Regions from separate parts of the Homo sapiens genome. Here regions 1, 3, 4, 5, 6 and 7 are each linked to region 2. The links are contacts of gene promoters, found by promoter capture Hi-C in blood cells and fetal thymus (Javierre and others, 2016). All regions are on one chromosome and are shown on one strand. Each heading gives the region's core, a stretch centred on a gene start or on the middle of the fragment in contact. The rest is flanking DNA. Distances are from core to core; before and after follow the strand shown.

Evidence for each region. The method cuts DNA at HindIII sites, captures the fragments that hold promoters and counts their contacts. A CHiCAGO score of 5 or more calls a contact.
Region 1: a fragment that was not itself captured here is called in contact with the fragment with the promoter of PEX26 in region 2 in 1 of 17 cell types (erythroblasts); the score reaches 5.2 in erythroblasts.
Region 3: a contact is called between a fragment that was not itself captured here and the fragment with the promoter of PEX26 in region 2, in 2 of 17 cell types (erythroblasts and megakaryocytes). The highest score is 5.8, in erythroblasts.
Region 4: a fragment that was not itself captured here is called in contact with the fragment with the promoter of PEX26 in region 2 in 1 of 17 cell types (total B cells); the score reaches 6.6 in total B cells.
Region 5: a contact is called between a fragment that was not itself captured here and the fragment with the promoter of PEX26 in region 2, in 2 of 17 cell types (fetal thymus and total CD8 T cells). The highest score is 6.5, in fetal thymus.
Region 6: a contact is called between a fragment that was not itself captured here and the fragment with the promoter of PEX26 in region 2, in 6 of 17 cell types (megakaryocytes, total CD8 T cells, non-activated CD4 T cells and 3 more). The highest score is 7.2, in megakaryocytes.
Region 7: a fragment that was not itself captured here is called in contact with the fragment with the promoter of PEX26 in region 2 in 7 of 17 cell types (erythroblasts, total B cells, megakaryocytes and 4 more); the score reaches 6.7 in erythroblasts.

The regions. Positions count from the first base shown.
Region 1 is chr22:17,646,171-17,649,991 of GRCh38, forward strand. All of the region lies in intron 1 of BCL2L13 (BCL2 like 13), which reads left to right. Among named protein-coding and RNA genes, the nearest start is that of BCL2L13, 9.3 kb to the left of the region's middle. The HindIII fragment of the contact is 1,652 bases long and covers 1,214-2,865 here.
Region 2 is chr22:18,075,453-18,079,317 of GRCh38, forward strand. It overlaps PEX26 (peroxisomal biogenesis factor 26), which reads left to right and starts at 2,538. Exons shown (of 5, transcript NM_001127649.3): 1 at 2,538-3,154. The coding sequence starts at 2,925. It overlaps LOC105372853 (a long non-coding RNA gene), which reads left to right. Exons shown (of 6, transcript XR_001755424.2): 6 at 2,206-2,444. RefSeq lists enhancers at 2,212-2,271, 2,602-2,831, 3,312-3,361 and a silencer at 2,902-2,951. The HindIII fragment of the contact is 13,258 bases long and covers 1,417-3,865 here.
Region 3 is chr22:17,676,045-17,680,023 of GRCh38, forward strand. The region is part of intron 2 of BCL2L13 (BCL2 like 13); the gene reads left to right. Among named protein-coding and RNA genes, the nearest start is that of BCL2L13, 39 kb to the left of the region's middle. The HindIII fragment of the contact is 1,754 bases long and covers 763-2,516 here.
Region 4 is chr22:17,594,272-17,598,153 of GRCh38, forward strand. It overlaps ATP6V1E1 (ATPase H+ transporting V1 subunit E1), which reads right to left. Exons shown (of 9, transcript NM_001696.4): 8 at 258-345. Among named protein-coding and RNA genes, the nearest start is that of ATP6V1E1, 33 kb to the right of the region's middle. The HindIII fragment of the contact is 2,631 bases long and covers 488-3,118 here.
Region 5 is chr22:17,620,800-17,624,374 of GRCh38, forward strand. The region is part of intron 1 of ATP6V1E1 (ATPase H+ transporting V1 subunit E1); the gene reads right to left. Among named protein-coding and RNA genes, the nearest start is that of ATP6V1E1, 6.2 kb to the right of the region's middle. The HindIII fragment of the contact is 4,013 bases long and covers 197-3,575 here.
Region 6 is chr22:17,721,709-17,725,474 of GRCh38, forward strand. The region is part of intron 6 of BCL2L13 (BCL2 like 13); the gene reads left to right. Among named protein-coding and RNA genes, the nearest start is that of MIR3198-1, 41 kb to the right of the region's middle. The HindIII fragment of the contact is 1,833 bases long and covers 1,366-3,198 here.
Region 7 is chr22:17,705,556-17,709,176 of GRCh38, forward strand. All of the region lies in intron 6 of BCL2L13 (BCL2 like 13), which reads left to right. Among named protein-coding and RNA genes, the nearest start is that of MIR3198-1, 57 kb to the right of the region's middle. RefSeq lists enhancers at 758-807, 828-877. The HindIII fragment of the contact is 711 bases long and covers 1,500-2,210 here.

The DNA of each region.
Region 1 (3,821 bases), core at 790-3,289, 430 kb before region 2:
GATTAAGGCACAGAAAGAAACAGGTGGGTTACATATTATGTTTAATAGTTTGAATCGTACAAATTATAGCAGGTTTTTTGTTTGTTTGTTTGAGACAGAGTTTCTCGCTCTTGTTGCCCAGGCTGGAGTGCAATGGCACGATCTCAGCTCACTGCAACCTCCACCTCCTGGGTTCAGGCGATTCACCTGTCTCAGCCTCCTGAGTAGCTGGGATTACAGGTGTGCATGCCACCACGCCAGGCTAATTTTTGTATTTTTAGTAGTGACGGTGTTTCATCATATTGGTCAAGCTGGTCTCAAACTCCTGACCTCAGGTGATCCGCCCACCGCACCCTCCCAAAGTGCTGGGATTACAGGCATGAGCCACTGCGCCTGGCCAAGATAGCAATTTTTATAGTTAAGATCATCTATGTATTTACTCACTTCTGGATACCAAGAACACTTGTACTAACTTGAATTTTAAGAGGTCCTATTAGATAAAATTCAATGAGTAAAGGTAACTATATGTCCCTCTCATCATTTGAAAAGAATCTTGAAATATCTGTCTTTTTTTTTTTTTTTTTTTTTGAGATAGAGTCTAGCTCTGTCGCCTAGGCTGGAGTGCAGTTGTGCAATCTCAGCTCACTGCAGCCTCTGCCTCCCAGGTTCAAGTGATTCTCCTGCCTCAGCCTCCAGAGTAGATGGGATTACAGGTGCCTGCCACCACGCCCAGCTAATTTGTGTGTGTGTGTGTGTGTGTGTGTGTGTGTGTGTATAAACTACATATATATATATATATATATATATTTTTTTTTTTTTTTTTTTTTTTTCTTTTTCTTTTTGGGATGGAGTCTTGCTCTGTCACCCAGGCTGGAATGCAGTGGCACAATCTTGGCTAACTGCAAGCTCCGCCTCCCGGGTTCACACCATTCTCCTGTCTCAGCCTCCCAAGTAGCTGGGACTACAGGCACCTGCCACCACGCCTGGCTAATTTTTTTGTATTTCTAGTAGAGACGGGGTTTCACCGTGTTAGCCAGGCTGGTTTCGATCTCCTGACCTTGTGATCCGCTCGCCTTGGCCTCCCAAAGTTCTGGGGTTACAGGCATGAGCCACTGCACCTGGCCTAATTTTTGTATTTTTAGTGGAGACGGGGTTTCACTGTGTTGGCCAGACTGGTCTCGAACTCCTGACCTCGTGATCCGCCTGCCTTGGCCTCCCAAAGTGCTTCTACAAAAGCTTTAGGTGATGGTCCCGCGTCATAATTACCTTTCATCCAATCTAGCTTTTTTTTCCCCCCGTCCATTCTCAAAACTGACAAATTTGCTTCTTTCAGTACTCTGGATCTGTGATACTACAAAAACCACCTTGTTTTGCTACCGTATCCTTCCGTATTACTAGTGTTAGTGTTTTCACCTCTGCATTCCTCTCACCTAGTACATTACCTGGCATATAGTAAATATGTGTTGAATAAATACAGTTAAGGTCTAAGAGGAAGTGAAGACGGTGTACCCAATTAAGTGGTTGTGCTGTTACCTAGCTGTATGATTTTAGGCAAATAAATTGTTCTTGTTTCTCCATCTATAAAATTTTCATTCAAGTATAGAGGATTACTGTGACAACACATAGAAAAATGCTTTAGAAACAGATGTCACGAAGATGTAATTTATATATGATGTTTATTAGAAATGCCAAAGTCCCTCCGGGCGCAGTGGCTCACGCCTGTAATCCTAGCACTTTGGGAGGCCAAGGTGGGCGGATCGGGAGATAAGGAGATCGAGACCATCCTGGCTAACACGGTGAAACCCCCGTCTCTACTAAAAAATACAAAAAATTATCCGGGCTTGGTGGCACACCCCTGTAGTCCGAGCTGCTTGGGAGGCTGAGGTAGGAGAATCGCTTGAACCCAGGAGGCGAAGGTTGCAGTGAGCCGAGGTCATGCCACTGCACTCCTGGCGACAGAGACTCTGTCTCAAAAAAAAAAAAAGAAATGCAAAAGTTCATTGTGCAATATACTTATTAGACACTGCAGAATGTTGCAAAGGAAGTGGGTGTCCTCTCCCATTTTGTGCTTAGAGACATAACCCTGTAGTAGTGCTGTGGAGTTTACACTTGGCCTGTTATCAATACCTTTGTCCTATAATTTAATATAAATGTGCTAGTTACATAATAGTGTTCTTGGGATCTGACTTTTCCCCATTTAACCATAGTCCTGAAGGAGCTGCTGCATTGCTACACAACTGGAAGCTCAAGCTAAATTAGAAGTTGGGGCCAGATATGGTGGCTCACGCTTGTAATCCCAGCAATTTGGGACGCCAAGGTTGGAGGATCACTTGGGGCCTGGAGTTTGACACCAGCTGGGGCAACATAGTGAGACTCCATCGCTACAAAAAATTTAAAAATTAAAAAAAAAAGTTGCATGGCTGTTTTATACTGTAGGTCTGTTATGTTTATAACCAGAATAACAAATATGCATTTAAAGTCTGAAAACTGTATACTAGATTTAAATGAATAAATATAATCCTTCACCAAATATATAGATATATGGGCTTTAGCATATATACTAGAGTTAAAGGTGGAAGATGATGAAATTCATGATTAAGATTGCATTTATAATTACACAATCAGGTTTTATAAGAAAATTTGAGGAACATTAGGCTAAAAATCAAATTTGGAAACTTAGTGATTTGTAGTTTGTCTCTGGCTTTTGGGTTGGCAAACGACTTCAGTGATGTGGATTCTTGATAAATACAACAAATTTGAATACAACAAATTAGAGAATATCAATTTTTTTTTCTTTTAATTAGAGGCAGGGTGTTACCCTGTCGCTCAGGCTGGAGTGCAGTGGTATTATCACAGGCTCACTGCAGCCTCAATCTCCTGGGGTCAAGCTTGCTTCCTGCCTCAGCCCCCCACATTGTTGGGATTATGGGCATGAACTTGTGCCCGGCTCAATTTTTTTTTTTTTTGGGAGACGGAGTCTAGCTCTGTCACGCAGGCTGGAGTGCAGGTATGATTTCGGCTCACTGCAACTTCTGCCTCCCAGGCTCAATCAATTCTCTTGCCTCAGCCTCCGGAGTGGCTGGTATTATAGGCGCACGCCACCATGCCTGGCTAATTTTTGTATTTTAGTAGGGACGGGGTTTCACCAGGTTGCCCAGGCTGGTCTGGAACTCCTGACCTCAGGTGATCCGCCTGCCTCGGCCTCCCAAAGTGTTGGGATTACAGGCGTGAGCCATCACGCCGGGCCAATTTTTTAATTTAAAGCATTTATTCAAAATGTAAATACTTTCTTCTTCCTGCTACCAAAGAAATACTGAGACTTTTTTATTTTCTAGCAAAAGAGGGTTGTTGCTAAAGAGACTTTTTTTTTTGAGACGAAGTCTTGCTCTGTCGCCCAGGCTGTAGGGCAGTGGCACGATCTTGGCTCACTGCAACCTCTGCCTCCCGGGTTCAAGTGATTCTCCTGCCTCAGCCTCCTGAGTAGCTGGGATTACAGGCACCTGCCACCATGTCTGGCTAATTTTTGTATTTTTAGTAGAGACCGGGTTTCACCATGTTGGCCAGGCTGGTCTTAAACTCCTGACCTTAGGTGATGCACCCGCCTCGGCCTCCCAAAGTGCTGGGATTACAGGCGTGAGCCACTGTGCCTGGCCGCTGAAGAGACTTCCAAAAGCTTAGATTGTTATTAATTTTATCTATTCTCCCCTCTTTTTTTTCTTTTCTTTTTTTTTTTTTTTTTTGAGATGGAGCTTTGCTCTGTCGTCCAAGTTGGAGTGCAATGCGTAATCTTGGCCCACTGCAGCCTCCGCCTCCCTGCTCTGAGCGATTCTCCTGCCTCAGCC
Region 2 (3,865 bases), core at 1,288-3,787:
ACCAGGATTCTAGCCATGCCTCTCATCTCCAGTCCAGTGTGCTTTCTGCTACAAAAACAACAACTCATCCCCTGCTACAGCAGGCTGAGCAAATCTGCCTCCTCAGGCAAGGAGCCACACTGAGCCCTCTGCCAAATGGAAGGAACAACCCCAAGTTCCAGAGCCTAGGTAGGGCTAGGGAAGGGGTTGTAACGAGGATACTGGCATCTCAGGTGCTCTGCCAGTTTTCCCAAAATAAAACTATTCAAACAATACAAATATTAATATGGGCCTGGCCTTATACATCTGAAAGGACTGTCCTTATTTCCACTGTGTTTTTTGTCTCAAAGATGAGGAAATGACAGAAGAGATGATTTCAAAGGCTGTCCCATGAGCTCCAACTTAGAGACAGAAGTTTGGCTAAGTAAAGACAATACGCATTTATGTTCCCCCAGAGGGAATGAATTCGCTTCTGTTTAGGATTTCTGTGTCTTCGCTTGAGAAAGTCTAAGTACTTGTAGACATAGAGGAGATGATGTGTCCCACTGGATGTGTGTTGAGGAATCCATTTGTGGGCATAATAGTGCTAAACAGTGGTTACATACGGACTGATATGAAGCCCGGGAATAGTTGAAAATTGGGTGAATCAGAAATGGAATACAATCATATTTTTATATGGTTTCTAGCTCTCCTCTCTCCTGCCTTAAATATCTTGACCTCATTCTGGCTGTCTCACTACTAAATAGGCAAATTTACTTTTAGCAAGGCTGCTTCTGTTAAGACTGTGCCTCCATCTCCTGGACAAATTTGGAATAGCAAGAAATTTGTTAGGAAAGGGACTTTTCCAGGCAGCAGCCGCTTAGAGCTGGCCGCTTCTGAGCATGTTCGTCTTCCCAGGCCTGGCTCACATTTTCAGTGCTTAATGCGCATGGCGCTTTATGCGCAATATTACTTAATTCTTCCCTCAGCCATTGGGAGCTAAGGACAAACTGTTATCCCAATTTTACAGGTGAGGAAATCAGAGCTTATTTAAATAAATTGCCGAGGTCACACAACTAGTAAGCGACAAAATCTCAGTCAAACCGAGGCTCTTTTGGTTCAAAGATGTGTATTGAGCTCTACTCTGCTCTGCAGGGACAGAACTAAGTATGTTTGCTATTCAGGGGATACACAGTCATTCCATGAGCAAGTTACACAATGTAAAATAAGGACATTGTGAAAAACAAAACCATACCGTACATAATGCACTTTATAGTAAAGTACTGGGAACAGAGTATTTGGTAAATTGTAACTATAATAATAATTTTAAACAGATCCACAAATCACACTTATTATTATATTCTGTTTCACCCGGGCTTTGCCAAGCTTCCCACATTTGTACTAGATCCTCTTGGCTTTAGTTTCTCCCCAGTTCTCTACCCTTTGAATTCACTCCAAAGCTTCCCTAGAATCTTTGCTCTCCTAGAAATTAGATTAAACAGGCACCTGCTCACATCATACATCCCCTGCCCTTGTCACCAGACATGCACACATCCATCTTCTGGGATTTCCGTTCTCTTGCAGAAAAGTCTGCATGGGAAGCTGAGGCAGAACCAAGTCCACCAGACTCCGAGGAAAGAGAAGTCTGGACCCTGTAACCAGATAAAAGTGAAACCAGGACTTCATTTATTCCACAAATACTTTTTGACTACCTATAGATGACAGGCACTGTTCAAGGCATTGAGGTTCCCACAGTGAACAAAAGAGACAAAAACGTCTGCCTTTGTGAGTTTATATCATAGTGGAAGGAAATAGACAATAAAAATAAGTAAAATATAGACATTGGTATGTAGATGGTGATAAATGATAAGGAGAAATATAAAGACAGATCGGAAGTGACAACAGTGGGGAAGTGGAATTGGTATCTGCATTTAACGTTGTTTTTTAACAGCAAATTCAGGATGGGGCAGAGAGCAGTGAGAAAAATGAGGCCCTTATGCTCAGCGCCCCCAACCCCGCCTCGGTGGGGTCACTATTCATTTTGGAACATTGCCCTTGGGACCAACATATTCTCAGTGGTCCTTGTGAAGGTTTCCACCCTAAGTCCCTCATCCTCACCAGGCAATATTCATTACCCTACAGCAAACTCCGGAGGCAACGCGGAGAAAGTGTGAATCAATTCAAGACTAAGGTTGCCAAAATGTTTGATCAGCTCTGCGTCAGCCTTGACATTACATTACATTACAGATCCCCTGATCGCCACCGTCGCAGAAGCTCTGAATTAAAAGCGTGCATGTAGCTGCACATCCATTGCTGGCACTTCTTCCGTTAGCCTCCGCTGGAACTGGTTAGTGAGGACCCCTCCATTTCACAAGACAGCTTCGGTTTTGCTTCGTTTTGACTTCCGCACCCCGAAGCTGTAGCACCAGTTTGTTTTCTCACGGCACAGGGGCGGCTTCCGGGGCGCGGCGTGCTGGGGGTTGTAGTCCGCGCTCTGCCTCCTACTTCCATTACAGAAGGCGATGGGCCGAGAGCTGAGGAACTACAACTCCTAGAGTACTCCGCGCCGCCGGGACGCCGCGCGGCTGCGGGGCTGGGCGAGCGCAAAGATGTCCGCGCCCGCTGCCGGGAGGCGAGGTGAGTCTTTGATCGTAACCAGGAGCCCGGAGCTGAGGCAGTTCCTGCACGTGTCGCGGGGCCGGAGAAGCTAGGGCCAGGTATTCCAGGGATGCAAGAATCCTGCAAATCTGACGTGTAAACTGCTTCCCCAGCCTCCAGGCGAGCCCAGCTTTTGCCTCAGATAGGCCCCTTCCTTTTCCTTCTCGGGGAATCGACCTCGGGAAGGGGTGTGGGCAAAGAGATGAGGACTCTCCCTCTTCGCCCAGGCCAACTCGGGATATCCCGGAGCCTCTGGGGAGGCGGTCACTCCGACGTCTGAGGACCTGGGCCTTGGACCCGGACTCGTTATGAAGAGCGATTCTTCGACCTCTGCAGCCCCCCTCAGGGGGCTCGGGGGACCCCTGCGCAGCAGCGAGCCGGTGCGCGCGGTCCCGGCCCGGGCGCCGGCCGTGGACCTTCTGGAGGAGGCGGCCGACCTCCTGGTGGTGCACCTGGACTTCCGGGCGGCGCTGGAGACCTGCGAGCGGGCCTGGCAGAGTCTGGCCAACCACGCCGTGGCAGAGGAACCCGCGGGCACGTACGTGCTGGGCTCGGAAATGAACCGATTTCCGGGCGCTCTTGTGGTGGGGCTCAAGGTCTCAGGAGTTCTGTCCTTCCCAGATTGCCCACAAGGAGCTTTACACCTCGCTTTCATCAGTGGTTTGTCTCCGAGAGGGTGGTCGCTCATCGTGTGCCCATTCTACAGAGAAGGGAAGTCGTGTAACAAAAACTTAGTGGGGATCCCACAGCCAATTATTTGCTCCTTGTTCCAAGGTACAATGACATGATGGGAAGGCTGAATGTGTATTAAGTGCTAAGTTCTGTCAGTAAGCAGGTGGTAAAAGTCCTCTCCCAGGTACCTCCGCCCTCCCCGCCCCGCCCAAGGTTGTTTATTCCTGACCTTGGCTGATGATGGGGAATGGGGGTCATGGCAGGAGCAGCGTTCTGGTCCAATTAGAGGACTGGATTAAAGAATTAATTCAGGGCCGGGAGCTGGGGCTTACGCCTGTAATCCCAGCACTTTGGGAGGCCGAGGCAGGAGGATTGCTTGAGCCCAGGAGTTCGAGACCAGCCTGGGTAACATAATGAGCCCTCTTCTCTACCAAAAAGAAGAAAAAGAAAAGAATCCGGAGAAAAAAACCTTGGGCTTGCATTGCTCTTTCTAATGCCACCAGCCTCGTCTGGCAGGTGAGGGAGTCATTTCTTTGCATTGTAAACTTGGGTTAGGCCACGCTAGGGAGGTGGTAGG
Region 3 (3,979 bases), core at 390-2,889, 400 kb before region 2:
AAGATAATTATCTAATAATACAATTTTAGAGCATGAAAAGAATTGGTGAGTGGGAGCACCTGTCGATTGGGCATTTATCTCATTACTCTTCACAACTACCCTTTGTGGTGGGTATTATTTTCCCATTTTATATAAGAGGAGAGACGGTGGCTCACGCCTGTAATCCCAGCACTTCGGGAGGCTGAGGCAGGCGGATCACTTCAGGTCAGGAGTTCGAGACCAGCCTGGCCAACATGGCAGAACCCTATCTCTACTAAAAACAAAAAAAAATAGGCAGGTGTGGTGGCACACGCCTGTACTCCCAGCTACTTGGGAGGCTGAGGTGGGAGAATTGCTTGAACCCAGGAGGTGGAGGTTGCAGTGAGCCGAGACTGCACCACTGCACTCCAGCCTGGGTGACAGAGCGAGACTCTGTCTCAATTAAAAAAATAATCATAAAGAGGAGAGGGTCAAGAAGATTATTTTCCTTGCCCAAGTGAAGAGTTAGAAGGCCTGACTCCAAAGCTTATCAACCACTTTACGGCTGTTTTCCAGGAAGCTGGAAGGGAAAGAGAGAATTTTATTGCAAGAAATAGCATGGGCCGTGAATTAATTTCTGAGCTTGTGTTTGATTTCACTTAATAATGTCATGATGTATTCTGGAGATCACTGTATCTTGTGCAGTTATATTAATCAGTGCTGTTGCAGAGCCATCTAACACTACAAATTACTTCTAAAGGGAAAACCTGTTATAATTATAAACAGTAATGGAGATTTAGTAGAAGCTTATCTGTAAAGGTAGACTTTTATGCTTTATGAGAATTTATAAAGATTAGGATAAATTGGCATAGGATCTTTCTAGGATAAATTGGCCTCAAATTTTTGCATAATAGATTGTTTTATGTAACATTTTCAAGTTTTTATGAATGTAGTTTATCAAAGTTATTTACTTAGGCAGAAGTAAGTGAAATGTCATTAAGCAAAGTATATGCTATTGGTGACATTGAGGAGATCCTTTGTGTTACATTTCAACTTTTAAGGATTCTGGCACTTAGGGAGGCAGAGGCAGGAGGATGGCTTGAGCCCAGGAGTTTGAGACCTGCCTAGGCAATATAGTGAGACCCTATTCTCAAAAAATAAAAAAATAAAAAAATAAAAGGATTTGAATTTTATTTTGGTTAGTCTCATCTCATAAGGAAAGTGTTTTATGTCGCTTAAAGCCATGTTATTTTTGTCAGCTTTAAAAGTAGAAAATGAATCAGAATCTGTGATACGTAAAAATGTTTAACCTTTTGTTTTTTAAAGGTATTTTAAATACCTGTGGATGATAGAATAATCAAGTTTCTTGACCTTAATAGAATTAATTAATTCAAAGCCCATCTGAGAATTTGGGATTCTTTAATTTGGTTGCAAAAAATGAAAACATAGGCAGAGCCTGGTGGCTCATGCCTGTAATCCCAGCGTGAGGGAGGCCAAGGTGGGCGGCCTGCTTGAGCCCAGGAATTTGAGACCAGCCTGGCCAACAAGGCAAAACTTTGTCTCTACCAAAAAAAAGAAAAACCCCACACAGCTGGGCGCGGTGGCTCACACCTGTAATCCCAGCACTTTGGGAGTCTGAGGCAGGTGGATCATGAGGTCAGGAGATCGAGACCATCCTGGCCAACATGGTGAAACCCTGTCTCTACCAAAAATACAAAAATTAGCTGGGTGTGGTGGTGTGCACCTGTAGTTCTAGCTACTCAGGAGGCTGAGGCAGGAGAATCACTTGAACCCAGGAGGCAGAGGTTGCAGTGAGGCGAGATCGCGCCATTGCATGATCTGGCGACAGAGCGAGACTCTGTCTCAAAAAAAAAACAAAAAAACCCCACAAAAATTAGCTGGGCATGGTGGTGTGTACCTGTAGTGCCAGCTACTTGAGAGGCTGAGGTGGGAAGATCGCTTGAGCCTAAGAGGTTGAGGCTCTTGTGAGCCATGATAGTGCCACTGCACTCCAGCCTGGGCAACAGGGTGAGACCCTGTCTAGAAACATAAAATATATAGAAGTGCTGAAGTGCAGTGGTGCAGTCATGGCTCACAGCAGCCTCGACCTCCCAGGCTCAAGTGATCTTCACACATCAGGCTCCCGAGTATCTTGGACGATGGGAACATGCCACTGTGCTCAGCTAGTTTTTTTTATTTTTCGTAGAAACAAGGTCTAGCTATGTTGCGCAGGCTGTTCTTGAACTCCTAAACTTAAACAATCCTTCTGCCTCGGCCTCCCAAAGTGCTGAGATTACAGGCATGAGCACCACACCCAACTGAAGTGAAGATTAAATAAGGGGACATGAAAGTCCCTGTCAGAAGACAGTATCACCGATATAGACAGCCTTTCTGCTCTCTGTTAACTATTTAATCATGTCAGAAATGTTTCTGAGATCTTTCATTCCTAGCCACCCAACCAGAAGATGACGAGAGCACAGCCTGGATTAACGATTTTGTAGTCAGACTCACCAGAGTTCCAATTATAACTTCTTTATGGTAGTGGTAGAACCTATCCAAGCTTCAGTTTCCTCATCTTCAAATGGAACTATTATTTCATCCCTCATAAGGTTGACTTGGAAATTAAATGAAATAACACATAGGAAATGTTTACTACCGTGCCTGTTAAGTAACAGGTACTTTGTAAATGCTTGCTGTTGTCCTGCCCTTCCTGAACTTCCCCAGTCTATATAAATAGTTTCATGTGCTGGACAAATCTTACTCATTTTTGTGCTGCGTAGATGCTTCAGGACATACCTGATAAATAGCAGGTAGTCAATGTTTCTTCAGTGGATAAATGAATAGTAGGTAGACCTGCAACTTAGTGGCCCAGTTCATGCTGCTTTTTGTTAGCTTGTTTGGTTTTTCTGCTGAAATTCTTGCATGGTGGAGTATAGTTGATTGCAGGGCCCTTCCCCCACACCCAGGTAGGGGCTTCATTGTCCCCACAAGTTACTTATCTCAAGTCTTTAGGGAAATGAAAAACCACTCTCCTCTAACAGAAGGTTAGTTGCTAAGTATACAATTCAGCATCCTCTGGGTGTTCAGGTAAGTCTGAATTTAAGTTCCAGAAATGAGTGAGATTCCTAGGATGACTCTGAATTATCTTGACTTCCCTGAATGCTTCTGGCTAAAAACCAAGCTGGGATTATTGATGTGATTGTGAATCTGGCCCATGTCCTGGGAATGTGGATTCTGCTGCATATGTCAATTGGTTTGGCTCTTTTTTTTTTTTTTTTTTTTTTTTGAGACAGTTTCACCCTTGTGGCCCAGGCTGGAGTGCAATGGTGCGATCTCTGCTCACCACAGCCTCCAACTCCTGGGTTCAAGTGATTCTCCCACCTCAGCCTACCGAGTAGCTGTGATTACAGGCGCCTGCCACCATGCCTAGCAAATTTTTGTATTTTTAGTAGAGACGGGATTTCACCATGTTGGCCAGGCTGGTCTTGAACTCCTGACCTCAGGTGATCCGCCCGCCTTGGCCTCCTGAAGTGCTGGGATTACAGGCGTGAGCCACTGTGCCTGGCTGGTTTGGCTCTTTTTATCCTAAATTTTTTGTTTAAATGTTCTGTAGTACTGAAATCACCTGAAAGTAGAAGAAAAAAAAATTATTCAAGAAAGAATATTTTTGCAATGTAGGGAGAGCTTGAGCTTTTTATATAAGCTTTTAAAGCTTTAAAAGGAACTGTGCTGTTTTACCCCCAAATTTGCCCACTTTGAATTCAGGAGAAACGTTTTGGTCTCCTTTATGTTCTAGTCTCTGGATACAAATGTTTTCTTTGTTCGTTTTTTCCCCTTATTACCAACCACAGGTTCTTAGGCTCCTGTGTAATAGAAATTGACACAAGGCCAAGCAAGTTTCCCAGACAAGGCTATATTAAGACTTATGGGCCAGGCACGGTGGCTCACGCCTGTAATCCCAGCACTTTGGGAGGCTGGGGCGGGCGGATTACCTGAGGTCAGGAGTTCGAGATCAGCCTGG
Region 4 (3,882 bases), core at 553-3,052, 480 kb before region 2:
AGCACCTTACATGTAGTAAAATGTACATATTCGAATCCTAGGTCAACAAAACACTTGTTCTGACCCCAAATTCACCCTCATGTAAATGTTACCACCTCAGCAAATGCTACTACATGCCCAATTCTCATTCTTTTTGAGAAAATGTCCAAAACTGGAAAGACAGCAACAAATCCCAAATACCAGTGAATGGACACGTGTTCTCTGTCCCACTTCAAAGTAACAGCAGACCAACTACCAAGAAGTACCCCCACACTCACCTGCTGGGCTATGAGATCCAGCCGGCTTTCCAGGGTGTTGGAAACCTTTATTTTACGATCTCCATTATAGATCTCAACTCCACCAGCTCTGCAAAAAAAAAAGCACAGGAAATAATCATTTTCAAAGACTTGAGAAAGATACATGGTACCCTTTACTCCCGCAGAGGAATGCCCTTGTCTTGGTGTGTAGACTGCGCAACCTAAGCAACAGGCTTGAAAGGAACTGAAAAAGCTTCTGAAGATGTAACGCACAGTTGGTTTCAGGAAACCCCAGTCCCCGCCTAGATGTCCATTATATGAAACAGCGTAGTATTTGCATACAACCATCACACATCCTCCCCTATATTGCAAATCATGTCTACAGCACTTAAAATAGCTAATACGATGTAAATGGTTGTTATACCGTAGTGTTTAGGGAGTGAAAAGAAAAAGTTGGTTGAATTCACAGGTGTGGACCCCAAAGATACAGAGAACTGACTGTATTCATCTCAATAACTGTCATTTACCAAGTGACACTATGTGTCAATTTGTTTTGTTTTTTTTGAGACTCGCTCTGTTGCCCAGGCAGGAGTGCAATGGTGCGATCTTGGCTCACTGCAACCTCTGCCTCCCGAGTTCAAGCAATTCTCCTGCGTCAGCCTCCCCAGTAGCTGGGATTACAGGCACCTGCCATCACGCCTGGCTAATTTTTGTATTGTTGTAGAGACGGGGTTTCACCATGTTGGCCAGGCTGGTCTTGAACTCCTGACCTCAGGTGATCCGCCCACCTCTGCCTCCACAAGTGTTGGGATTACAGGAGTGAGTCACCGCGCCCAGCCTGTGTCAATTTGATTTTATGTTACAAAACCTGTTTTAATTATCACAGCCAGCCCTCCCCAACAAAATGAAAAAGAGAGGATTTCATCTCAGTTTGCAAATCACTCAATCCTCATCTGAATGTTTTCTTAAGCCCAATCCTGCTCATTACTGATGAGGCCCTATCACGACTGCATGTGTGTCTGATAAAAGATGCCACTGCTGGCCGGGCGTGGTAGCTCACCCCTGTAATCCCAGCACTTTGGGAGGCCGAGGTGCTCCCAAACTCAAGTTTGAGGCCAGCCTGGCCAACATGGCGAAAGCCTGTCTCCACTAAAAATACAAAAATTAGCTGGGCATGGTGGGGCGTGCCTGTAGTCCCAGCTACTTGAGAGACTGAGGCAGGAGAATTGCTTGAACCCAGGAGGCAGAGGTTGCAGCAAGCCGAGATCACACCACTGCACTCCAGCTTGGGTGACAGAAAGAGACCCTTACTCAAAATACAACAACAACAACAAAAAAAGAGGCTGGGTGCGGTGGCTCACGCCTGTAATCCCAGCTCTTTGAGAGGCCGAGGTGGGCAGATCACGACATCAGGAGATTGAGACAATCCTGGCTAACAAGGTGAAACCCCGTCTCTACTAAAAATACAAAAAAAATTAGCGAGGCATGGTGGCGGGTGCCTGTAGTCCCAGCTAATCGGGAGGCTAAGGCAGGAGAATGGTGTGAACCTGGGAGGTGGAGCTTGCAGTGAGCCGAGGTCGTGCCACTGCACTCCAGCCTGGGTGAGAGTGAGACTCTGTCTCAAAAAATAAATAAATAAATAAATAAGATAAAAAATGCTATGAGGTTAGTGCTAATACGTCAATTTACAGATAAGGGAATCAGGGCTCACTACTATGGTTTGAGTCTGTTCCCTCAGAAACTAATGGTGAAATTTGATTCTCAATGTGGCAGTGTTGGGAGGTGGAGCATAGTAGGAGGTGTTCAGGGCTCAAGGGCAGATCCCGAGGCAATGAACTGTGGCGAGGGCCTGGATTCTAGCTCCGGCAGGACTCGACTGTGAGCAGAGGGTGGGCTGGTATGATAGGGAGTCTGGTTCCCTAGGCTCTCTGGCCTCCTCTCTCGCCATGTGGTCTCTATGCACACACCCACTCCCCTTCCACCTTCTGCCATGAGTGGAAGCAGCCTGAGGCCCTCACCAGATGCAGCTGTCCAATCTTGAACTTTCCAGCCATGAGAATCATGAACCAAATAAACCTCTTTTCTCCATGAATTACCCAGCCTCGGGTATTCTGTTATAGCAACACTAAATGGACGACACCACTCAATGAAACTGAATAAACGAGTCCAAGATTACCCAGGTAGTAAGTGGCAGAATCAGGAATCTAACCCAACTCTGACAGCATATCTTATGAGTTTATATACTTTTTCCATTTACAGAGCATTTTCACATGTACTATCTCATCTTTTTTTCTTCACTGCATGAAACAAAAAAGCAAAAAGCAATGATCCTATTTTACATATGATGAATTCAGTCTCCAGGTCCCATAGTAGCAAAAGGCCAAGATAGGACTCAAATCTAGGTCTTACATTCCTAAGTGTGATAATCAGCTAACTTCAAAATGTGTCCAAGGCACCAGGCATGGTGGCTCACGCCTGTAATCCCAGCACTTTGGGAGGCCGAGCGGGCAGATCACGAGGTCAGGAGATCGAGACCATCCTGGCTAACACAGTGAAACCCCATCTCTACTAAAAATACAAAAAAATTAGCTGGGCGTGGTGGCAGGCGCCTGTAGTCCCAGCTACTCAGGAGGCTAAGGCAGGAAAATCGCTTGAACCTGGGAGGCAGAGGTTGCAGTGAGCCAAGATCATGCCACTGTACTCCAGCCTGGGTGACAGAGTGAGACTGCCTGTCTTAAAAAAAAAAAAAAAGTGTCCAAGGTACTTTCTTCAATGTTAGTCAGTAGTGTGGCTAGGTGGCCTCAGACAGGCCAGTGAAATCGAGAAAATGACACTGGCTCTCCCCTTGTCAGGAGTTTCTACTGCCTACCCCAGCTACACAAAGCTTGTTAGGAACACTGATCCCAGAAATGTTCTGTCATTTCCTCACAGTCATAAAAATACCACTCATACTTGCAATTCTATCTCTAAGGAACCTAACTACCAGGCATACACAATTCTTGTTTTGATAACTATTACTTAGAAGAAGGGAGTATCTACCTCAGCATCCAATACAGAGATCTGGTCCTAGCTTTCATTCTGGGGGCCACCTCCCCGCAGAAGGAAAGCAGTGACCATAAACCAGACTTTTTTTTTTCTGAGATGCAGTCTTGCTCTGTCGCCATACTGGAGTCCAGTGAGTGGCGTGTTCTTGGCTCGCTACAACCTCCACCTCCTGGATTCAAGCAATTCTCCTGCCTCAGCCTCCTGGGTAGCTGGGACTACAGGCGTGCGCCACCACGCTCAGCTAATTTTTGTATTTTTAGTAGAGACAGGACTGGACTATGAGCAGAGGGTGGACTGGTATGATAGGGAGTCTAGCTCCCTAGGCCATGTTGGTAAGGATGGTCTCGATCTCTTGACCTTGTGATCCACCTGCCTCAGCCTCCCAAAGTGTTGGGATTACAGGCGTGAGCCACCGCACCTGGCCAAACTAGACTTTTAGAGTATATTTAGCCAGCCAACAAGGGAGAGCAAGAGAGCACTGCGAGAACAACAGGAACGGCTGCAAGTAGAATACACCACAGCTCTAGCCTTGTGTCTAAGAGTGCGTTTAAATGGTGAAAATACCATTTAAAAAAGGCCTGGTATAAAGGCCACTCTCCCA
Region 5 (3,575 bases), core at 953-3,452, 450 kb before region 2:
ACGCCTGTAATCCCAGAACTTTGGGAGGCCGAGGCGGGCGGATCACGAGGTCAGGAGATCCAGACCATCCTGGCTAACAGGGTGAAACCCCATCTCTACTAAAAATACAAAAAATTAGCCGGCGTGGTGGCGGGCGCCTGTAGTTCCAGCTACTTGGGAGGCTGAGGCAGGAGAATGGCGTGAACCCGGGAGGCGAAGCTTGCAGTGAGCCGAGATCGCGCCACTGCACACCAGCCTGGGCGACAGAGCGAGACTCTGTCTCAAAAAAAAAAATAGTTCTTTACCTTGCCCACCTCGCTCCATCATCGGAGGGACTACCATAGTCCTTGCCATCATCTCCTCTCAGCTAAACTACTACAACAGCTTCCAAATTTGTCTTCCTGCCGCTATTCTTGTTGTTTCTAATCGACTCTACATTGCCACCAGAGAGATGCTTTCAAAATGCCTATCTTATCATGTAACACTCTACCCCCGCTTAAGATAAAGATTTTAGAAGGTACAGGATCTTATCACTGCTTATCTGTCTTTTTTTGAGACAGGGTCTCTGTCTCCCAGGCTAGAGTGCAATGGCACAATCCCGCCTCATTTTGACCTCCGCCTTCTACAGCTCAAGCGATCCCCCCGTAGCTGGGACCATAGGTGCGTGTCACCACGTCCAGCTTAATTTTGTATTTTTTGTAGAGAGGGGTTTTGCCATGTTGCCCAGGCTGGTCTTGAACTACTGGGCTCAAGCGATCCTCCTGCCTTGGCTTCCCGAAGTGCTGGGATTTCAGGTGTGAGTCACCGTACTCAGCCCACTGCTTACCTTTCAAGCATCATATGAAACAACAAACCCTTCACTACTCACCATCTTCAGACTCTTAGTTCCTACCATACTAAACTTATTTCAGTTCCTTGAGCTCACCATTCTTTCTCATCTCCAAGATTTCAAACATGCTGTTCCTTCCATTTGGAACATTCTTCCTTCTAACTTTTTGGGCCTCAGCTTGTATAACTATCACCTCCTTAGGGAAATCTTTCCTGTACCTAGAGTACTTTGTACTTCCTCTATCACGGCACCTAAACTTGTAATTGTTGCTTATTTGTCCCTATCCTCAACTGAACTATGAGGCTAGGAACTTGTTAAAGGTTCCTAGATCACCGGCTACAATTGGAGAATAAAGTCCAATGAAGGCTTCCGAATGGGGCTTGGGGAATAATCCAACTTAGACTCATAAATGAAGTATCATCTCTTGTGGCAGATATAAAATATACCCAAGTAAAAATCCAACCGACACAGCTCATCAAACTCACTGGTTGTGGGATGCAATGGTAGCTTCATTTCCTAAGGGAGTGATGAAATCCAAAAAGGAAAAAAAAGCTAAAAATTGACGTAGGATCTTTAGGTCATTAATTCATTTTGTTTATTAATTATCCCACTAAAAGGTAAGCACCACTGAGTACAGGGATCTTGTCTTTTATGCCAGTGTGAACCCAGAACATGGAACAACCACCACCATAGGAGATGCTCAAAAAAATTTGTGAATGAATGCAAATCTGTTGGGAGTTTCAAGACTTCTAAGGAATACAAGGTATCCCAGGTACTTTTTAGGGTTTAACAATCTGTAAACAATCCCCATAGCAGCTTCTCCATATAACACAAGATATCATAAATCTTAAGTATACATAGGTGTACCAAAACGAATTAAGAAAGCACTACTGGGTGGGGAGCTAGGGGAGGGATAGCATTAGGAGAAATACCTAATGTAGATGATGGGTTGATGGGTGCAGCAAACCACCATGGCACGCGTATCACTATGTAACAAACCTGTGCACATTCTGCACATGTATCTCAGAACTTAAAGTATAATGAAACAAAAAAAAGAAAGAAAAGAAAACACTACTGCCTGGGTATGGTGGCTCATGCCTGTAATCCCAAGACCCTGGGAGGCCAAGGTGGGTAGATCTCCTGAGGTTGGGAGTTTGAGACCAGCCTGGCCAAGATGGAGAAACCCCATCTCTACTAAAAATACAAAAAATTAGCCAGGCGTGGTGGTGCATGCCTGTAATCCCAGTTACTCAGGAGGCTGAGGCAGGAGAATCACTTGAACCTGGAGGCGGAGGTTGTGGTAGGCATAGATTGTGCCACTGCACTCCAGCCTGGGCAAGAAGAGCGAAACTCCGTCTCAAAAAAAACAAAACAAAATGAAACAAAAAACATATAGGAGGATTTTAGAAGGGACAGTTTTTTTGTTTTATCAAAAATCTTGGAGCCACCCTACTTTTCTTTTTTTTCTTATTTTGGCAGGTGAGTTGTTACACACTCAGTGGATTCCAACTTCTGTGGCCACCATCGTGTTTCCAATCCTACTTTTAAGGAGACAAAAAGTTATGATGATCAAACCTATGTTATAGATAACATGGTACTTACAATATCTTGAGCCTTGAAATACTTGGGGTACCTAATCCAGACCTAGATGTGTGGGAAATCACTGACCTTGCTTAAAAGATCAGCTCCACAAATTTGGGAGTATGGAGAGGGGTCATGGTAATGGTGTCTACAAGTTTAGTTTGAAGTCTCACTGAACTTATTCTATCTGGAATTTTAAGTCATTTAACTAGCCGGGCTCACGCCTGTAATCCCAGCACTTTGGGAGGCCAATCCGGGTGGATCACGAGGTCAGGAGTTCAAGACCAGCCTGACCAACATGGTGAAACCTGGTCTCTACTAAAAATACAAAAATTAGCCAGGCGTGGTGGCGGGTGCCTGCAATCCTAGCTACTCAGGAGGCTGATGGAGGAGAATCACTTGAACCTGGGAGGTGGAGGTTGCAGCAAGCCAAGATCACGCCTGGGTGACAGAGCAAGACTCTGTCTCAAAAAAAAAAAAAAAGTCATTTAACTAAATACAGTAATCAAAACCGGTGTTTATAAATGCTACAAGTTTGGCCTCTAAAGGTGAACCCTGATTCGGACCTGGATTATCTGCCTTTAGCACTCTGCTGCACCCTTGGCTACCAGATTTGACCAGACCAGCACAGCCTAGAGCAAACTGCGCTAATTCTAACCCAGGTCAGAAGCCTATTTACAGTTAACATGATCATATTCTTTTAAGAGTTCCAAGAAGAGATATAGTCAACCCTTTAAGGACATTTAACTCCACCCCTAAGGCAGAAAATTTGACCTTTAAAAAAACAGTTTCTTCTTCCTGCTCAGTAATTAAGGTTTTTAGAGTCAGGTTTCTTTGTAAATTTGATGAAATAAATTACCATACTCCCCAGGAAAAAAGCAAATATACACAAATATTTTCATGCAATGGAGAAGTCAGAAAATTCAGGATTTATTAAGCATCTACTATGGGCTTGGTGCTTCATCTATTTACTTATGAGAATACAGTAAACAACACACACTGTCCTCATCGAGCTTTCATGTAGCATGAAGGATTATAGGAAATAGACAAGATTCCTTCTTTCAATTTTACATAAATAAAAAATAGGCCGGGTGCAGTGGCTGACACCTGTAATCCCAATACTTTGGGAGGCTGAGGCGGGCAGATCACGAGGTCAGGAGTTCGAGACCAGCCTGGCCAACATGGT
Region 6 (3,766 bases), core at 1,032-3,531, 350 kb before region 2:
AGAGGCAGGGTTTTGCCATGTTGGCCAGGCTGGTTTCAAACTCCTGACCTCAGGTGATCCACCCACCTTAGCCTCCCAAAGTGCTGGGATTACAGGCGTGAGCCACCACACCCGGCTAATTTTTTATGTTTTTAGTAGAGACGGGGTTTCACCGTGTTAGCCAGGATGGTCTCGATCTCCTGACCTCGTGATCTGCCCTGCTCGGCCTCCCAAAGTGCTGGGATTACAGGCATGAGCCACCGCGCCCGGCCAAGAAATTTTTATGATGCACACTTTTCTTGTTACCTTGCCCCTTAGAAATAACTCATAATGGTTTGGTGTACGTTTTTCTAAACATGTGTTTTGCTTATATAAACATTTTATTATGTATAAATATATGCAAATAAGTAGATATGTATATATGTGCATTTAGTAAATAGGATCATACCATCCATTTTCCCACAGAGTTATCTTTGCCACAAATCATGTGACCTTATATATCTAGTTCTGGATTCTATTTTATTTAATTGGTCTAATTGCCTCTGTTTTTTTTGGAATTGAGACAAGATCTTGCTCTGTCATCCAGGCTGGACTACAGTGGCACGATCATAGCTCAGTGCAGACTCAAACTCCTGGGCTCAAGGGATCATCCCATTTCAGCCTCCTGAGTTGAGTAGATGAGACTACAGGGGTGTGTGTGTGTGTGTGTGTGTGTGTGTGTGTGTGTGTGTGTATGTAGAGATGATGTCTTACTATGTTGCTCAAGCTTGTCTTGAACTCCTGGCCTCAAATGATCCTCCTGCCTCAGCTTCCCAAAGTGCTGGGATTACAGGTATGAACCACTGTGCCCAGCCAGGTCTAATTGCCTATTTTTAAGCTCTTACCATGCTTATACAATCAGTGTGCCTTTGTAATGGGTTGAGTAGATACCTGGTAGTGTCAGCTCTCAAACTGTTGTTTTTCAAGATCAGCTTAAATTCCTTGGCCTTTTTAAATTGCTATATAGATTTTAGAATTAATTAGTTGTCAATTTCCATAAGAAAAAACCTGGTAGGATTTTATATTGGAGATTGTATTGAACCAAAGGGTTAATCTGGGAATAGCTGACATCTTTACAATAGTTTTCCAATCTATGAGCATGATATATATATCCCTTTAGGATATCTTTAATTTCTTTCAATAATACTTTGTAGTTTTTTATGTAGAGTTATTGTACAATATGGGCTTCCTTCCACATTGGACTTAAAAATGTACTTCTTTTTTAATAGTAGTTAAATAGTTTGGATGAACCATATATATTTTTAAACTTTCCTGAGGGTATTGAAGACTGTTTGAAATCCTTCTGTATTAAAAATGATGCTAATGAAAATCCTTGCAAAATGTGTAAGCTTGAGACCTGATTACAGCTTCCGGTTAGGATCTCCATGTCTTTGCTTACTTAGCTGAACCAAACCCTCCCTGTGTCTCTCTCTATCTGTCCCTCTCCCTCTCTCCCTCTCTCTTTCTCCCTCTCCTGAATGCATCCTCTTCTGGACCATTCCAGTGGTCCTTACCCTGAGGCTGGGGCAAGCTGTCATCCTCAAAAGCTGGGAGGCCTAGAAGCCCTCTCTTCCAAGCCAATGGGCCCTCCAATTTTCCTAATTGTATACTGCAGTACTGTAATTTTTAAAGACAGATTTTACTTTACAGTTTTGTGTTATCTCTGCTTAGAAGAGATGGAGGAGGAAGGAAAAGTTTGTAAATTACCTTCTTTAGCCAAGGGAGGGTATTGTTTCCATTTGTTTTCACTTCCTTATTGTCCCATCCAGTTGGTATTTTAGAATAGCTCTTTGTCCTACCACCATACCACCAAAAACAACAATTAAAATGACAACACAAACAATAGCAAGTTATGAAATAGCATAACTTACTGATTACTTCCTATGTACAAAGTACTAATCTAAGCACTATAAATACTATACCTCGGGCCGGGCGCGGTGTCTCACGCCTGTAATCCCAGCACTTTGGGAGGCCGAGGTAGGTGGATCACGAGGTCAAGAGATTGAGACCATCCTGGCCAACATGGTGAAACCCCGTCTCTACTAAAAATACAAGTATTAGCTGGGCATGGTGGCGTGCACCTGTAGTTCCAGCTACTCGGGAGGCTGAGGCAGGAGAATCACTTGAACCTGGGAGACGGAGGTTGCAGTGAGCCAAGATTGCACCACTGCACTCCAGCCTGATGACAGAGTGAGACTCCGTCTCAAAAAAAAAACAAAAAAAAACAAAAAACAAACTATACCTCATTTTAAAAATGAACTCAAGTCCAGGTGTGGTGGCTCACACCTATAATCTCAGCACTTTGGGACACTGAGGTGGGAGAATTGCTTGAAGCCAGGAGTTTGAGACCAGCCTGGGCAACATAGAGAGACCCGTCTCTACAAAAAATAAAAAAACTTAGCTGAGTGCAGTGGCCCATGCTGTTATTCCCAGCTACTCAGGAGGCTGAGGCTAGAGGATCCCTTGGGACCAGAAGGTTGAGGCTGCAGTGAGCTGTGATCCTGCCACTGCACTTCAGCCTGTGTGACAGAGCGAGACCCCAACTCTAAAAATACAACAAAAACAATCTTATCTAGTCAGTCATCCCCATTTTATTTGTGAAGAAATTGAAGTCTAAAAGTTTAAGCAAGGTATCCAGATTCGCACAGCTGGTACACAGTTGGAGCTGGGATACAAGCCAGTTGTTTTTGACTGTGAATTTTGTGGTCATACTGTATTATTTTAACCCCCTGATTATTCCATACTCATAGAACATCCTTGATGCTTACCAGGGCCTCTGAAGTGGCTGGAGCAAGGGTCGAGGTAGAAAGTGGTGCAGTATGATGCCGACATCATGGTCGTGTGATTTATTTGTATTTCTTATTTCCTTTTTTATGGGGCTGATAGACTTTTGATTTATGTTAGATCCTTGATGTATGTAGAAAGTTTTTGGTTTTGGTTGAAGAATGAAATTATCCTACTTCAGTTGAATAGCAACCATAATCATAAAATGAAGTAGAAATTAATTTGCTTTACATATTCCATTCAGATTCCCTGTAGCTTTTACGAGTGTTGTCTAGCCTTTGTATGACAATTTCTGTACATCTCTGTGACATTCCATTCCATTGGTTCTCTTCCTGTCCTTTTATTGCGCCTTACCCTCTGGGTTGGCCTAGCCCCTTGTGCATACACCTGTCATAAAGCTTTCTGTATCATATTGAAGTTAGTTATTCATATGTCAGGCTTCACAGCTGCCTAGTAAATTCTGTAAGAATAGACCCATTCTTTCTCGTAGCCCTTGTGCCTGACACAACCCTGATAAGCAGTAGGCACACGGTGGCCTGTTATTAATAGACATGGACACAAGGCCTGTGCTGTAGGGCTTTATTGCTTTCACTCAGACTTCCTGACAAAAGAAGCAAGAGTCTCCGTGTCTGCAGCATTTCTCCATTCTGTCTCTGCCATCAGAGGAATTTTAAAGCAAAGCTCTGATTATAATTTTGTACCTCAGAGATGTCAGTGACAAACCATCGCCTGTTGGATAAAGTCCATATTTCTTAGCTGTCATTCAGGTTCCTCCATGGTCCTGTCCTCACTGACCTTCTATTCTTCATGGGCACTCTGCATTAATTAAACAGGGCTCTGTCCTTATCTTCTTTTTTTTCTGTCTCTGTGCTTTTGCCTGCATTGTGTCTTCTGTGTACCCTTCGCCTGCCAAAATCTTACCCATTCTTCAGATGTCTGATAGAAATGCTAGTCCCTCCGTGAG
Region 7 (3,621 bases), core at 605-3,104, 370 kb before region 2:
CAAAGTGCTGGGATTGCAGGCGTGAGCCACCGCGCCCGGCCGATATTGCTTTTTTTTTAATGCCAGTTGGTGAAAATGTATCCTGTGACATAAGCTGTCAACATGAATCTCCTTAAGATACTGTGTGCTGAACATTACATTGACAGCTCTTAAAACCCTTCCAGAAGAGAATCATTTGACCACATGATATCGCATGTCTGTTATATAAAGCCTGTGGTATGATTTCCACGGGGAATGTATTTGTCATTAGTCACTTGAACACAACATCAAGTGAAACAAACTGCCTACCTCTCAAGGTGCAGCTACTTTTGAAAACCTGCAGCAGAGGAGGTGGTGCCAGCAGCCATAATCTGTTGGATGAATGGAGTGATATAGCACATAGTCAGTTAGGAACAGGCAGGCTTTGGACATATAGATTTGAAGGAGAAAAATAATATTTTGTTTTCTGAATTATTAACAGAAATGGCTAGGACTTAGAAACAGGGTCTTGCTTTGTTGCCCTGGCTGGAGTACAGTGGCATGATCATGGCTCATTTGCAGCCTCAACTTCCTGGGCTCAAGTGATCCTCCCACCTCAGCCTCCCTAGTAGCTGGGACCACAGGTGTGCATGCACTACCACACTTGGCTTATTTTTTGCAGAGAGAGGTTTCACTATGTTGCCCAAGCTGGTCTCAAACTCCTGGCCTCAAGCAATCCTCCCCGCTTGGCCTCCCAAAGTGCTGGGATTACAGGCATGCGCCACCTTGCCCAGCCTGTTTTCTCTTTCTACCTTGTTTTTTTTTTTTTTTCACTCTGCCTTTTTACCCGGCGAATGATGAACTGAGAAAAGGATTAGAAATCACAAGATTTGTTTCTTGCCCCAGCTCTGCCAAATACTAGCCCTGTGTTTTGGAAGGATTCATTTAACTTCTCTGAACCTCAGTTTCAACTACAAAAAGGGAAGAATAGCTTCTCTGTCTCACAAAAATAATGATGTGAAAGTGTTTTGTGAAAATGTCACACTTTTACAAATGCCAGGTTTTCACATGCGTCTCTGAAGAGTGTGGTTTTTTTCCCTCTCCTTAAGTCTGATCACCATTTCCTCTTAGTTTCAGTTTTGACTTTTATTTGCCCTGCAGCCCGGTGAGGGCACAGACTGGTTCATGTGCTGTGATTCTCCCTGAGTCATCCTTGCTCCCTCCCTCCTCATTCTCTTTTCATTTCCTGGGCTTGTGTTGCTACGTTAGAAGTCTGTCTGTCTCCTGGAAAGGGCAGAGCAAGTCCACTGTGGTAAGGCTTGTATTTTACTTTCTCCGTCGTCACATGATAAATACTTCTTGTGAAAGATTTACTTTTAGATTCCATAAAAGATTACTGGAGGGAATGTCATCTGTCTATTGTAATATTTAAGTATTTTGAATAAAATTAATCTTTGTCATTTTCTCTTGACATGAAGCTTCTGATTTTAGAATAGGTTTTTGTTTGTTTAATCTAGGATATTTAAAGACTATCTCTTGGAAGCTTTTAGGTTAATAATTTGTTAGAATAGTTTTCATATTGTGGGAGGTGACACACAGGGATGATCTGAAATTAATGAAGTGGGTTGCAGCTAAAATCAATTTAGTAAGAGTAAGTACTGTTTTGGGAAAATCTGCCTGCTGTATATGTGGGTGTGGATGTTTACTGTGTTGTACTCTGAAATGTGTTTTTTGTGGATCTTCCTCATCAAGTTGGGTGGAAAATTACTTCTCTGTAATTTCTTCAGCACTCTCCATTTTCTTATTTTAGGTTAATAATGATCTGAGAGGCGCATTTGGTTATAAGGGTCCAAAGCAGTGATCTGTTTCCATTTTGCGACTTCGAGGCCTCAGAAATATAAAACTAGCTGGTTGATCCCGGCTAGTTTTATATTTTTGAGCCCTCAAAGTTACAAAATGTCAGTGGAGCCTTTGTGTGTTTTGTGTCAGTGGAGCCAAAGAGATGGATACTCCCAACAATACAAATATTTTATATGAAGAATGATTTAGATTGTCAGAATCGTTCTAAGACTACTTGTAGATGTTATTCTAATGTAAGTTGTAACTAACGTATTATCCAAAACAGCTCTTTTTCTTGACAGATATATATATAAAGTCTGAGAAGTAATGATAGAGGTTTGTTGGCATAAATCTTAAGGGAAATGAGTCCTTAGAAAATTTACCAACGTAGATGGGCTTTGGAATTTTGCCAAAGCTTCTTCAGATGGAAAAGTTAAGTTCATAGGAGCTCAGCTCAGCAGCAGCTGTGTCTCAGAAGGTAAAATATTGCTTGAGGGGGCAGAATAATTTGTAACTGATGTGACCCCCTGCCCCCACCAAAAAAAAAGTGAAACAAAAAAATACAATCAATATAGACATCATGATGCAGCCAATTTTTGTAATAGGTCTCTGAGCAATTGTCAACCTGATTTTTACTTAGGTCTACCACCAAAGTAAAGTTATGTTTGTATTTTATTTTACATTTATTTTGATACGTTCCTTTACTTAGTTTTTTACTTAGTTCCTACCACCAAAGCAAAGTTATATTTGTATTTTATTTTACATTTATTTTGTTATATTCCTTTTATCTACTTAGGTTTCTTCTCTACTTCCCTTTTTAATTGAAGAGTTTAATGCATGTATCTGTGTGTTTGCTTGAAAAAAAACACCAAGTATAACATGTTCTATCTATGAATACTTCTGGCCATTAACTCAAAAGGTACTATATTACAGACAGAAAAGCACCAGAAAGCAATCAGGGACTTCATCTAAGAGGTAGGACAGCATAGTTGGTAAAAATACAGACCCTGGAGGCAAACTGCCTGGGCTTGAATCCCAGCTTTATTACTTTGGGAAAACTACTTATCTTCTTTACTTGTTTTGGTATCCATGTCTGTGAAATGGAAGTAATAATAATCCTCTCATAGCATTGTTGTGAGGTTTCAATAGATGAAGTGAAGACTTTAGAAGGGCACATGATAAGAATTATATAAGGGTTACCTATTATTGCTATCCAATTTGTCATAGCAAGCTAAGGGACCTTGGGCAAGTTACTCAAACCCTTTGGCTTCATTTATTTAAAAACAAAAACAAAAAAGACGCAGTTCTCTGCTTCTTTGTGCATATTTAAACTCATGGTTTATCCCATGAGTTTTATATTTTTGAGCCCTCGAAATTACTCCTTTGCATTTTATGTCAGTGAAGCCAAAGAGACAGATACTCTCAACAACACAAATATTTTGTATTAAAAACTATTTAGATTGTTAGAATGGTTCCGAGGCTACTTGTAGATATTATTCTTCTAATATGATAAGTTGTAAGTAATATATTATCCAAAACAGCTCTTTTTCTTTTAGTGAAAGCCTGCTCTTCATTATGACATTAATTATTAAGAGAGGCTCGGCCGAGCATGGTGGCTAACGCCTGTAATACCAGCACTTTGGGAGGCCGAGGTGGGTGACTCACAAGGTCAGGAGATCGAGACCATCCTGACTAACACGGTGAAACCCCGTCTCTACTAAAAAATACAAAAAATTAGCTGGGCGTGGTGGCAGGCACCTGTAGTCCCAGCTACTCGGGAGGCTGAGGCAGGAGAATGGCGTGAACCCAGGAGGCAGAGGTTGC